Regions from separate parts of the Homo sapiens genome. Here region 1 is linked to region 2. The links are contacts of gene promoters, found by promoter capture Hi-C in human tissues and cell types (Jung and others, 2019). All regions are on one chromosome and are shown on one strand. Each heading gives the region's core, a stretch centred on a gene start or on the middle of the fragment in contact. The rest is flanking DNA. Distances are from core to core; before and after follow the strand shown.

What was found. The method cuts DNA at HindIII sites, captures the fragments that hold promoters and counts their contacts. A contact is called where the count stands out against the background at its distance.
Region 1: a contact is called between a fragment that was not itself captured here and the fragment with the promoter of ARHGAP18 in region 2, in 1 of the 25 tissues and cell types used here (hippocampus).

Annotation. Positions count from the first base shown.
Region 1 is chr6:128,597,398-128,602,881 of GRCh38, reverse strand. No RefSeq gene overlaps it. Among named protein-coding and RNA genes, the nearest start is that of PTPRK, 80 kb to the right of the region's middle. The HindIII fragment of the contact is 8,498 bases long and covers 1-5,484 here.
Region 2 is chr6:129,705,348-129,711,463 of GRCh38, reverse strand. ARHGAP18 (Rho GTPase activating protein 18) reads left to right here and starts at 1,287. Exons shown (of 15, transcript NM_033515.3): 1 at 1,287-1,440. The coding sequence starts at 1,328. RefSeq lists a silencer at 934-1,013. The HindIII fragment of the contact is 16,000 bases long and covers 1-6,116 here.

The DNA of each region.
Region 1 (5,484 bases), core at 1,302-3,801, 1.1 Mb after region 2:
CATATGTATTAACCTGCTAGCGTTGGAATAACAAAATGTCATAGACTAGGTGGCTTCAACAACAAATTAATTTTCTTACAATTCTGGAAGCTGGAATTCCAAGATCAACATGTCAACAATTCTCACTGTGTCCTCACATGGCCTTTTCTTTATTTATACATGTCCCTGTGTCACTTCCTTTTCTTATAAGGGTACCAGTCATCTTCGATTAAGGTCCCACCCTATAGGCCTTAATTAACTTTAATTACCTTTTTAAAGGCCCTATCTCCAAATATAGTCACATAGTGAGTTAAGGCATCAACATATGAATTTTGGGACAGAGTTCAGTCCACGACACCATTTATATGGTAAACTGTACTTCAATAACAAAGTTTTTTTTAAAAAGCAAATGTTCATAAAGTGGGAACTTTAATGTAAATGAAGAGACTGAATTTACTATATGATAATGCATTAGTCCATTCTCACACTACTATAAAGCTACTACCTAAGACTGATAATTTATAAACAAAAGAGGTTTAATTGACTCACAGTTCCACATGGCTCGGGAGGCCTCAGGAAACTTACAATCATGGCAGAAGACAAGGGGAAGCAAGAACCTTCTTCACATGGCAGGAGAGAGAAGCAAGCAAGGGTAGGGAAACTGTCTTATAAAACCACCAGATCTCGTGAGAACTCACTTACTATCACAAGAACAGCATGGGGGAAACCACTCCCATGATCCAATCAACCCTCTCCCTCAACACCTGGAGATTACAATTGAAGTTGAGATCTGGGTGGGGACACAGAGCCAAACCATATCAGATGACTTTAAGACAACCCATTCTTTCCTGAGAAAACTGTGGGAGAAGAGTACAAGAGAACTGGAAGCCTATGCAAAAGAAGGAAGGCGACAGAGGGACAAGGGAGGGTCAGTGGGAAGGGGAGATCTGGAAGCAGGGAGTAGCTTTTCCTGCTTTACAAGTATGATTTAATTTGGGAGAGGCCAAAATCCCCTGTCTGGGGCCAGCTGGTGGACCCAGATGGGGCTCATCACTTCCAGCAATAGAGAGGGAGAGAGAGAGGAGAGAGGAGAGAAGTAGGAAGTGGGTGTGGGCTTGAGGGGAAAGATTGGGGGCAGGTGTGAAAGAGTAGTAGAAAAATGGTAAGAAAGAGAGAGGGAGAGAAAGAGGAGAGGAAACAAGAGGAGAGAAAACGAATAAATATGACTCTACAAGAGGTAAATATGTGGCTTAAAGTTAAAGGAAATAAACTGGATGCCAGATGCCTGGGTTCATGTCCCGCCTCAGCTACTTAAGAGCTTGGTGACCATGGTAACATCACTTAATTTTTCCATGCCTCAGTCTCTTAATCTGTCAAATGAAGTAAAGAATACTACCCACATTATATGATCATTTACAGAAACAAATGAGCTAATATATGTACAGTTAGCAAAGGTCTACTATTATTATCACTCAAGTTCCAGGTTTCCATCTAGGATTCAAGAAATAAACAAGAAATGACAACCTGCCTTTGTGAAGATTCAGCAAATGTGTACAGCCTGGGAAATAGTCTGTTCCCTTTTTCACTCCCTTGTTTGCTTTTCCAACTGGGCTTACGGTGTGTATAGTTACAGCCAACTCTGAACATAGCAACCCTAGAAAGACTGCTCAGCGTAGCTGTGCCGAGGTGACTGGGATATACACAGTAGTTGTCATGTGATTTTACTTAAGCCTGATATCTCCCAACATAGACCTAATTTTCCATCTAGGAAATGTTGATATCCTGCCGTTCCATGATAAGGCTAAGTGAGAAGTCTGCAGTCCTCAAATGTAATTTTTCTACATGAGTTATCTTGCTTGCTTTTTTCATTGAGGCAGCCAAAAAAATAAATCCAGCAAAGACCATTTTATTCCCCTCCACTTCACTGTGATGCAAGTTGATAGACCACACTAACCCCTAAGGAGGATCATTTCTGAAATGTGAGAATGCAGGTGTTTTGCTTATTTTCTACATGGGCACTTTTCTCTCTGCCAGCGCCTGTCTCCAGAGATGACAGCACTGCAAAGAAACCGGGAGCTGAAAAACCACAGGTAATGTTTACTGTGTGCATTTATTAAAAGGTGTTAACAACTAATTGCATAGCATCACCCACTTAAACACATTGCAAAGAGTATTATTGCCATGAGTCTGAAAAATGCTTCCCTGGCATAGATTTTTAATAGCTTTTAAAAAGAATATGGTCCTGTAGGAAATGCCAAATTTGTGGCTTCATCCAGTGCATTTGGGAGACAGGATGTGGTTCAGCAGTTATGGGGGTTGCCGTGAGTCATCTATGGAGACAGATGTTTCCATGGTGACCTTCCCCATTCATTCAGTGTGAGGCCTCCATATACTCGTGAGGATTAATGACATGGCATTAACACTGATAATCATAATGAAGAGAGCTGTCTGAGATTGGGGCAACCCAACCCTGACATTTTCAAGGAAATAGGATGGAGGAATTTAACCAATGTGTAGAGGAAGAAAATATTGAACTACAAGGAGAGGAAATCCATTTCTTCTTTTTTTTATAAAATAGTCTTCCTGCCAGAAAAGAGTCAGCTGCTGACAGACTTCTATAGTCTCCCCTCTGAGAATTCTCTTTATATTATGACAGAGTGGGGGTGGAAATAAATAACCCCAAAAATGTTTCACTTTACGTCAAAAGAACCAGGACTAGAGAATAAGGAAAAGGCACAGACTTAAACTCTACTCAGTTGTCTTATTTGTTTGTTTATTTAAATACCTTAAGATGTTCCTTAGGAAATCCTTTTAGGGAAACTCATTTTACTGAGAGACTTGCCTATTCTATAGCTTTATGGCACTACTTTTGTCCCTTCGGGGAAAAAAAACCATTCTTCTCACATTGTGCTGATAGCAACATGTTTTTTTAGCTCACAGAGATGTGGGGCATTGTACGAACTGATAAAGTGAAATGTTAGGAGCCTATGATCTAACTCAGATGCCAGCCCGGGTACAATCGTAGACACAAAAAGAGATTATTACACTTTCCCAGAGCAGGATGCAGATACTCACAGGCTCACAGAGGATTGTGCCTTGTGATTTAGTTAGTTGTTTGCATGGTTATCTCTTTTATTAAATTTCAAGATTCTATAGAGCAGGAACTTCATCTTATTCACCTTTGGCACAGCCAGCTACCCCTAACATACACACATAAAAATATACACAAGCACACATATAAACAAACATACCTACACACACACACCCCTAGCATTTTACTTTACACCCCACACACTGCATTACTACCTACCTCTTAAATGAGTGGATTTCATCAGCAATGTAAAACCTCGAATGAGACAATTAAGCACTTGTATATGAAGTTTTTGAAACTCATAGAGTCAAATTATAATGGTTTTTAAAACTATGTAACACTGTTTTGCTTTTTTAAATGTTTAGACAAGTGGATTTGACACAAATGCAATAAAGCCTGAGAGGCAGTAAATGAAAAAAAATCATGAAAAAAGAAATTAAGAGACTCTAGAGCCACTGGACTATTCGGGTTGATTAAATGATGTCTGCAAAATGCTGATGACTGGACCTATTGTGGCATTTGCTAATCCAGCAAATATTTACTAAGTACCTATTTTAATAGTTACTTGCTCTGTGCCAAGCATTGTCCTAAGTGCTTATGCATATTGACTTATTTAATCTCTCCTAAGAGGTAAACACTATTATGAAAATACCTGTTTTTAGGAAAGTAAACTGAAGTAGGAGTAATTTCAGTGACTTGCCTAAATTCACATAAATAATATGGAGTTGAGTTTTAAGCTGAACCACGCAGGCTGGCTCCAGATCACAAGCTCTTAACTGCTATGTGATAATGCCAACCCCTGGGCTAGAAATGGGAGATATAAAAATAGTCAAATGGTACATACATCTTCTTGGTTTTCATAAAGCTTGGAGTTTTGAAGTGGTAACATGCTTAAAACCACCAGTTGCAATCACAACTGGCAAGTGCCACAAGGGACAAGGAAGGGACTCTAGGAACAGGTTAGTGCAAGTCATTCTAACCTAAAGATTATGAGGCTAGTCATAATAGGAAAAGGTACAGACAGTAAGATAGGTGAGCACCGCTTTCCTATTGACCTTGTTTTCTATTTGTCTTTGATGAGGAGGTATGCATGACTCAGCCAGAGATATTGAAGGAAGGAATCTTTCCAAATGATTCCTCAGGTATGAACTTTGAGGGACATACCTCTGCGGAGCAGAAAGTTAGCATCTGACTAGACAGATGTGATTACCCAGTTGGAAACTCTCAGCATGGACTGTTGGGAGGGACAGTGTTTCCAAGAAGCCAAAAGTGCAGAAAGAACAGCACAGTCAACAGAAGATCCTGATAACCTTTGCTAAGGTTATAGTGCGTGTCATGGGCATGAGAAACTTTGGGGAACCAGGTACCTGCTAAGAAAGTTCCTCTAAAAGTCAGTTTAAATCTCGGTGATTAATTAAACATTTTTATGCCTCATCATAGTAGTTAAGTACTTTCTATGTACCAAACTCTATGGTAAGTCTTGGGAGAAAAAATATTATTATTATTGCTATCCTGATCAAAGTTATGACATGGGAGAGCTGGCATAGGAACCAAAGCCTAACTTATTCCAAAGCCAGTTCTTATGGCAACTGTGGCTTGTGACCAAAATTCTTGCTGGGGTTTGCAAATGAAGCAAGTTAATACCTGTTCATAAGTAGGAACTAGTGACTCATTGGATCTGAGTGGAGAGCTTGACATAGAATCATCCTACAACTCCCAGAAGTAATTTGTCACTTAATGCCACTGATGCCCCAAAGTGTGATAGTCAAATCTATGGGGACACACTAGAAACAAATGTAAGATTTTGTCCCCATTTCAAAGTCTGTATGAATTTCCAGTCTTGGTTGATTAGATTCTTTCATTCAACATTAATTATGGCAGGATATCTAGGGACAGGGCAAAGTAGTAGTCAGGAGAAGAGCTAAAACTGAGGAGAAACACATTTTAAAATGTCAGGGAAATGGATACACATAGGTATCAAGAGAATGGACATAAATATTGCAAGCTGGGAGTTGCAAAGGCCCCAGCAAACAGCTTCTGGATGATCAATAGAAATGCAAGGGGAAAAGCAAAATGTGTGCTCAAACAGGGAAGCTATGAGAAATTGTCAGGAGAGCCAAAGAAATAGAGAAAGTGGAGAGGAGACAAGGCAAGACCTATAGCCGGGTCTGACCCCTGGCCTGAGGCAACTTGCTCTCGTGCTGCCAGTTCTTGAGTTCCTTGTCCCCTTGCTGAGAACGAATGAGCCATGGCAGGGTATCATATATGCTAAGAACAGAGGGCAGTAACCAGGAGTGAAACAGTGGGTGAGGGCAGGAGATGATACAGCTGAGTTCATCGAAATGGTTAGTGGGGGTACAAAAGTGCTGTTGCAGTATTTTCTGCAAGTCCACCTCAAGAGGCCAAAATATTTT
Region 2 (6,116 bases), core at 38-2,537:
TTGAGCCCAGGAGTTCAAGACCAGCCTGGGCAACACAGTGAGACCCTCCCTCTCCACAAAGCATAAAAAAATTAGCTGGGCGTGGTAGTGCATGCCTGTGGTCTTAGCTATTGGGGAGGCTGAGGCTGGAGGATTTCTTGAGCCTGGGAGGTTGAGGCTGCAGTGAGTTACAATCACCACTGTACTCCAGCCTGGGTGACAGAGTGAGACCCTGATTCAAAAACAAACCAAAAAAGTGATTTTTTTTTTTGGAGGGGAGATGGGGAGAAAGAACAGAGCTGTCTTTTGTGTTTATGATAATTTTGATCTTGTTTCTTAATCTGCAAAACAAAGAAGAGCATACTGGTGAAAAATAAAAGGAATGTAGCCTAGAATTCTGTTCAAATCCAGCTTCTGGCACTAGCAACTGTGTTATCTTAGTGAAGTTACTTAACTCGTCCCTCAGCCTTACTTTCCTTGTGTTATGTATAACACAGATGATAGTGATACCTATCTTGTACGGTGTGTGTGTGTGTGTGAGAGAGAGAGAATTGAATGGAATGAGATAATACATGTGAAACCCCCGTCCATGAGAGCTTGGCATATAGTAGGTGCTCAACAAATGGCAGGGACTTCTCTTGTTCTCAGCAATAACACTTAACAGAGCATTGGTAGGTCTATCCCTTTTTGGTGCTGAAAAATATTTTGCTAAAACAAGACGTATATTTGAGATTGGCTTTATGTGAAAGACGACGACATTCCAGGACACACAATTTTTATGAGGGCATTTTTAACCGGACACAAGGATCAAGCCTTTCTCGTCGTCTGGATTGCAGAGTTTTGCCGCGGGTTCGTTGTTTTTTACTATGGCTAATTTTAACGCTGAACATGAAGGGGTTAAGAAATGCCTTTACTCATGTTACATTAAGTAGCAGAAATTATAAGATAGAGGAATTGGGGAGGGAAAAAAAAAAGCCTTGGCAGCAACTCATGGTTTCCTAAGTAAGACGGCTTGTAGTTACAGTGATGAGTTGAATATACGTTCTGGCAGTTTAATCTGATCAGACTAACTTGGGGGTGGGTGCAACCCGTCGCTTCCACCCTTCGCCTCCTTTAACCAAAGCCGCCCAGAGTGCAATTGTCCAGAGTTGAAACCATGCTGTGAGTTGCAGCTTCTAATTGGAGAGGCAGGAAGCCCTTCCCTGGACAGACCCCGCCCCTCCCCGTGTGAATCGCCAGCCTGCGGGGAGGAGCTGGCCAATGCTAATGAGCGAGTTGCCAGGCGAGACAGGAACTTCTTTCCCCTTCTCTGTGTCAGGATCGCAGAAAGTATGTCCCTTCTCTCACCATGAGCTGGCTCTCCAGTTCCCAGGGAGTGGTACTAACAGCCTACCACCCCAGCGGCAAGGACCAGACCGTCGGGAACAGCCATGCAAAGGCAGGGGAGGAAGCCACCTCGAGGTAAGCCTTCGGAAGCTGAAAACAAAACAAAACCCTCTTACCTGCTCCAGGAAGAAAGTGACAGGGAAGTTGGCGTGGGGAGAAGGGAATTCCATCTGCACGTCGAGCCTGAGCTCGTGCAGCAGCAGTAGCAACGTTTGGCGTGATTTTTATGTACTTTTCATCTCACCTAGTCCAAGTCTGAAATAACCCATATGATTACTGGTGAAGACAGAGAAGAAGGAACTGGGGAGAGGGCTATATGGGCTGTCAGACTAGCTATTTAGCAGGTGCATTTGCACATGCTGAAAGATCAAATAGGTCTATCTGAAACACTTCCTTTCCTATGAAATGGAATTCTTGAATGGGCTCAAGGCACTGCCACTGGAACTGTTCGCTGGGAAAGTCTGCCAAAAAGCAGGGAGGCTGTTCACTGTACTGTACAAGCTGTTGTTGTTAGAGTGTTTTTTTTCCCCCCTCTCTTTGCTGAAAGCAAACCTCTTAGGCAAAAAGCCCAAGACACTGGCCTGTGGCAATATGTTTCACATTCTTTTGTGTATGTGGATTTTTTTTCCCCCAGGCTTTCAAAAAGGAGTTTTTGTCAGGAGATAGCACTCTGCTGCTGGAGTGAAATGTGGTTAATGTTAAATCACTTTATAGGCAGAGAGGGCAAATGTTCTATAGACCACTGAGGCGCAAAGGGTACCTTTCTCCCTATCTGTGTACTTTGTTCCATTTTCCAAGGGCTTTTTTTTTTCTTTCTCTCCTTAATGACCTTCTCACTAGCTGAACATTTTTACCTCCATCAAGATATAAATAGTAAATATTGGCCTAGAAGATTGCAAGAAGCAAATACTAACCTAATAGCCTAGAACACTAAATTAGTTATCGGTAAGCACATTTCCTCCTCAATGCTTAATGTGATAATAAAACCTTCTTTGTTCTTATGTGACTTATGCCTGTGCCTTAAGCTGAAATAATGCTGCCTTTCATTTGTTTTAAAATCTCCAAATATGAGGGAGGGAGAAAAATCAAAGGAATGGCTGTAATACTCAGTGTTAGACTCCCAGCTGACGGGAACTGTTTCTCACATAGCATCCACAGTATGTATTTCATTGAATGAATTCATTTCCAAAGATAAAAAAGATTTGGTGCTTGTGCCTTAGCTGTGTTACCATTTCATTTTCCATCATTTTAAATGACTTAATGTTAAATCATTAAATCAAGAGATCTTGAAGTGTTTTCATCCATTTTTCTGTAATGTATTAGTAATCATTAAGCAGTAAAGCAGCCTGCAACACCAACCCCATACCCAGCCATAACTTGGATTCCACATGTCAGTCAAAATTGCCAAAATTATACAAGCTCAGGACATTCTCCGACTTTAGGCTGAATGGCCTGAGGACCTGAGCTGAATCTTGGATCTTGATTGTGAGAATGGAAAGGACCTTAAGGACTGAGTCCTAACCTCTCATTTTCACGTAGGACTCAAACCCCAGGGATTAGTTAAGTTTTTGGAAGGTCTGGAGTTCTAGGCCTTTGTCTGGGGCTGCATCTCCAGTTCTGGAGACTCATTATTCTGTGTTTGCAGTGTGGGTGGCCCATACTTGAGTGGGTTGAGAGAATAAGAGAGGATCAGATCATTCTCTGCCTAGGCTGAAGCAGAACCAAGAGGCACTAAGGTGGCAGGGTGGGCAGCTGCCCACACGGCAAGTGCCCTGTGTGGGGCCACAGCTCCAGGTGAGCTCCTTTGCTGGCTGTCACGTAGCCTGCCCATACCAGACCCAACTTCCCACCACTGAATTAGTTCTAGGGATCGTTCCTGATATTGACCGGAGAAGATGGGAGCCTGGTTTGAGGGCAGGGAGGAAGGAGGGAGTAGGGCTAGTTTTCAATGGCTTTTACCCTTAAGGGCTAACGAATCAGATAAACTTGTTGTTGTTTTGGGAGATACCCTGTTTAGCCTGAAAGGATTGAGATACTGTAATTGCTATGGGGGAGGGGATGGATAGAAGGAAGGAGGATTTGAAGGTGGGATGGGGTCCTCGGTGACCACCTAAGAATGGTGATAGTGGTTTCGGGGCGGTGAACTGGACTTTGGCTTTGGCTTTGGCTGGGTTGGTCAGGTGTTGTTTTAAGCCCTGGGAAGCTGCTCCAAGGTGCAAGGTTGATGGTTGATGCCTATTTAAAGAAGTTCTCCAAAAAGTAAAAACAAAACAAAACTCTTAAAAAGGCTACATTAGGCTGGGTGTGATGGCTCACACCTGTCATCTCAGCACTTTGGGAAGCTGAGGTGGGTGGATTGCTTGAGCTCAGGAGTTAGAGACCAGCCTGGGCAAAAAAAAGACCCCCGCCCCCACAGCTCTACCAAAAATACAAAAAAAAAAAAAAAAACAAGAAACCACAAACAAACTAGAAATGGTAGTGCATGCCCGTGGTCCCAGCTACTCAGGAGGCTGAAGTGTGAGGATCACTTGAGGCTGGTGGAGCAGAGATTGCAGTGAGCTGAGATCACGCCACTGCACTCCAGCCTGGGTGAGGGAGTGAGACCCTGTCTCAAAAAATAAATAAATAAATAAAAAATAAAAGCTAAATTAGATTCTGCATTTCCTCCTACCCATTTAAAAATTATAGAAGATAGCACGGAAGTATAACTTTTCTTATCACAAGATTTTGTCTGTAAGTAATATGTTCTTTGAAATATTTAATCCAATATTTAGTTCATGAGATGAATTCATGTCTTTATAATGCCATTTATACATATGTGTATGACTTAGCGTATTTATTGAAAATTGTTTCCTTTTTTTTTTCGAGATGGAGTTTTGTTCTTGTTGCTCAGGCTGGAGCACAATGGCGCACTCTTGGCTCACCACAACCTCTGCCTCCCAGGTTCAAGCTATTCTCCTGCCTCAGCCTCTATAGTAGCTGGGACCACAGGCATGCACCACCACGCCTGGCTAATTTTGTATTTTTTTTTTTTAGTGGAGTCGGGGTTTCTCCATGTTGGTCAGGCTGGTCTCGAACTCCCGACTTCAGGTGATCTGCCCACCTTGGCCCCCCAAAGTGCTGGGATTACAGGCATGAGCCACTGCGCCCAGCCTGAAAGTGTTTGATTTTTAGCCTAGCCATACCAAGTCTTTTTTTTTTTTTTTTTTTTTTGAGACAGAGTCTTACTCTGTCACCCAGGCTGGAATGCCGTGGCACGATCTGGGCTCACTGCAACCTCCGTCTCCAGGCTCAAGTGATTCTCCTGCTTCAGCCTCCCAAGCAGCTGGGATTACAGGCGAGTGCCACCACCCCTGGCTAATTTTTGTATTTTTAGTAGAGACGGGGTTTCACCATGTTGACCAGGCTGGTCTCGAACTCCTGACCTCAGATGATCTGCCCACCTCATCCTCCCAAAGTGCCGAGATTACAGGCATGAGCCACTGCACCCGGCTCCATGTCCTTTTTTATTACCATTTGGTCTTTTGAAAAGCTGAGATAGTAGGGAATTAATATTTTTGGAAGTAATTTGTTAGCTAAATTTTCTCCATTCCATTATCCCTCTTTATCAGAAAACAGTCATTGAATGTCAGATTAAGGAATTCCTCCCACTCCTGGTTAGAGCCTCTCCCTTTATAGAATCCTGTTTTTCTTTTGTATGTTTCCTCCTCAAAACATGAGGATTTGAAGAAATATGTTAACATTAGTTGTCATGGCCGACTTGTACACAGTTGAATGTTTCCAAAGGAAACCACTTTTTATGAGTAGCTATATTTATAAGACTTTGTTTACTTGTTTTTCAAGCAGGCTTCTTAATATTTAGTTTTGAAAAGAATTTTTTCGAAGAATATTGTGTTTTGTCTATTCTTACTGTTCTCTCTTACCTTCCCATTTTAAGAGAAATGGTTGTTTGCTTTGCATATTTTTTGCTAATATTTTAATATGAATGTCAAGTAACCTTTTTTATTGGGCCTTTTAATTCCTTAGCTAACTGAATGGACTGATGAGTGAGATATTTTTATGCCTTCTCTGAATAAATGTATGGCATTCATCATGTAAGGTCTTGTTGACCCAACTTGCCATTGGTATTGGGTAGGCAGAAACAAGAGGCACTACACAGGGGTGACATAAACCCAGAAACCCTGGGTTCTGGGGCCAACCTGTCTGGGGTCATATCCCAGCTCTCTCATTCATTAGCAGTGTGACCTTGGAGGAGTTATCTCTCTACCCATAAATTGAACTTCATAATATTACTCACCTGATTAAGACAACTGAGTGGGATGACCTCTGTCAAGCCCATAGAAGAGTGTCTGGTTTGTAGCTAGCTGCTACTTTCCTTAATACTAGGTAAAGAAAAGGAAAGAAAGGATTGAGTTTTGCAGGATATAGAATATTCTCCCTTGTTTCAGAAGCGTTTTTCTGAATATTATTTTGTCATGTGTTAAGAAACATGGGCATTATCCATATGCTTAAAAAATGACATATTTGAGAATGAACCATAATGTAAAAGTTTAGGCCTTTGAAGTTTGAAAGACCTTGGAAATATCATCCTGATCCATAGCACCATTTATGATTTGAACTGGTAACAATTGCCTATACCAGGCCTTTCTTGGGGGGTATTGATGGGCATTGAGGTCTGCAAATATTGACTCTATGGCAAGATAGAATGTGGGTGGATCCTCTTTTGGCAGCTGGACTCACTCCTGTCTCCA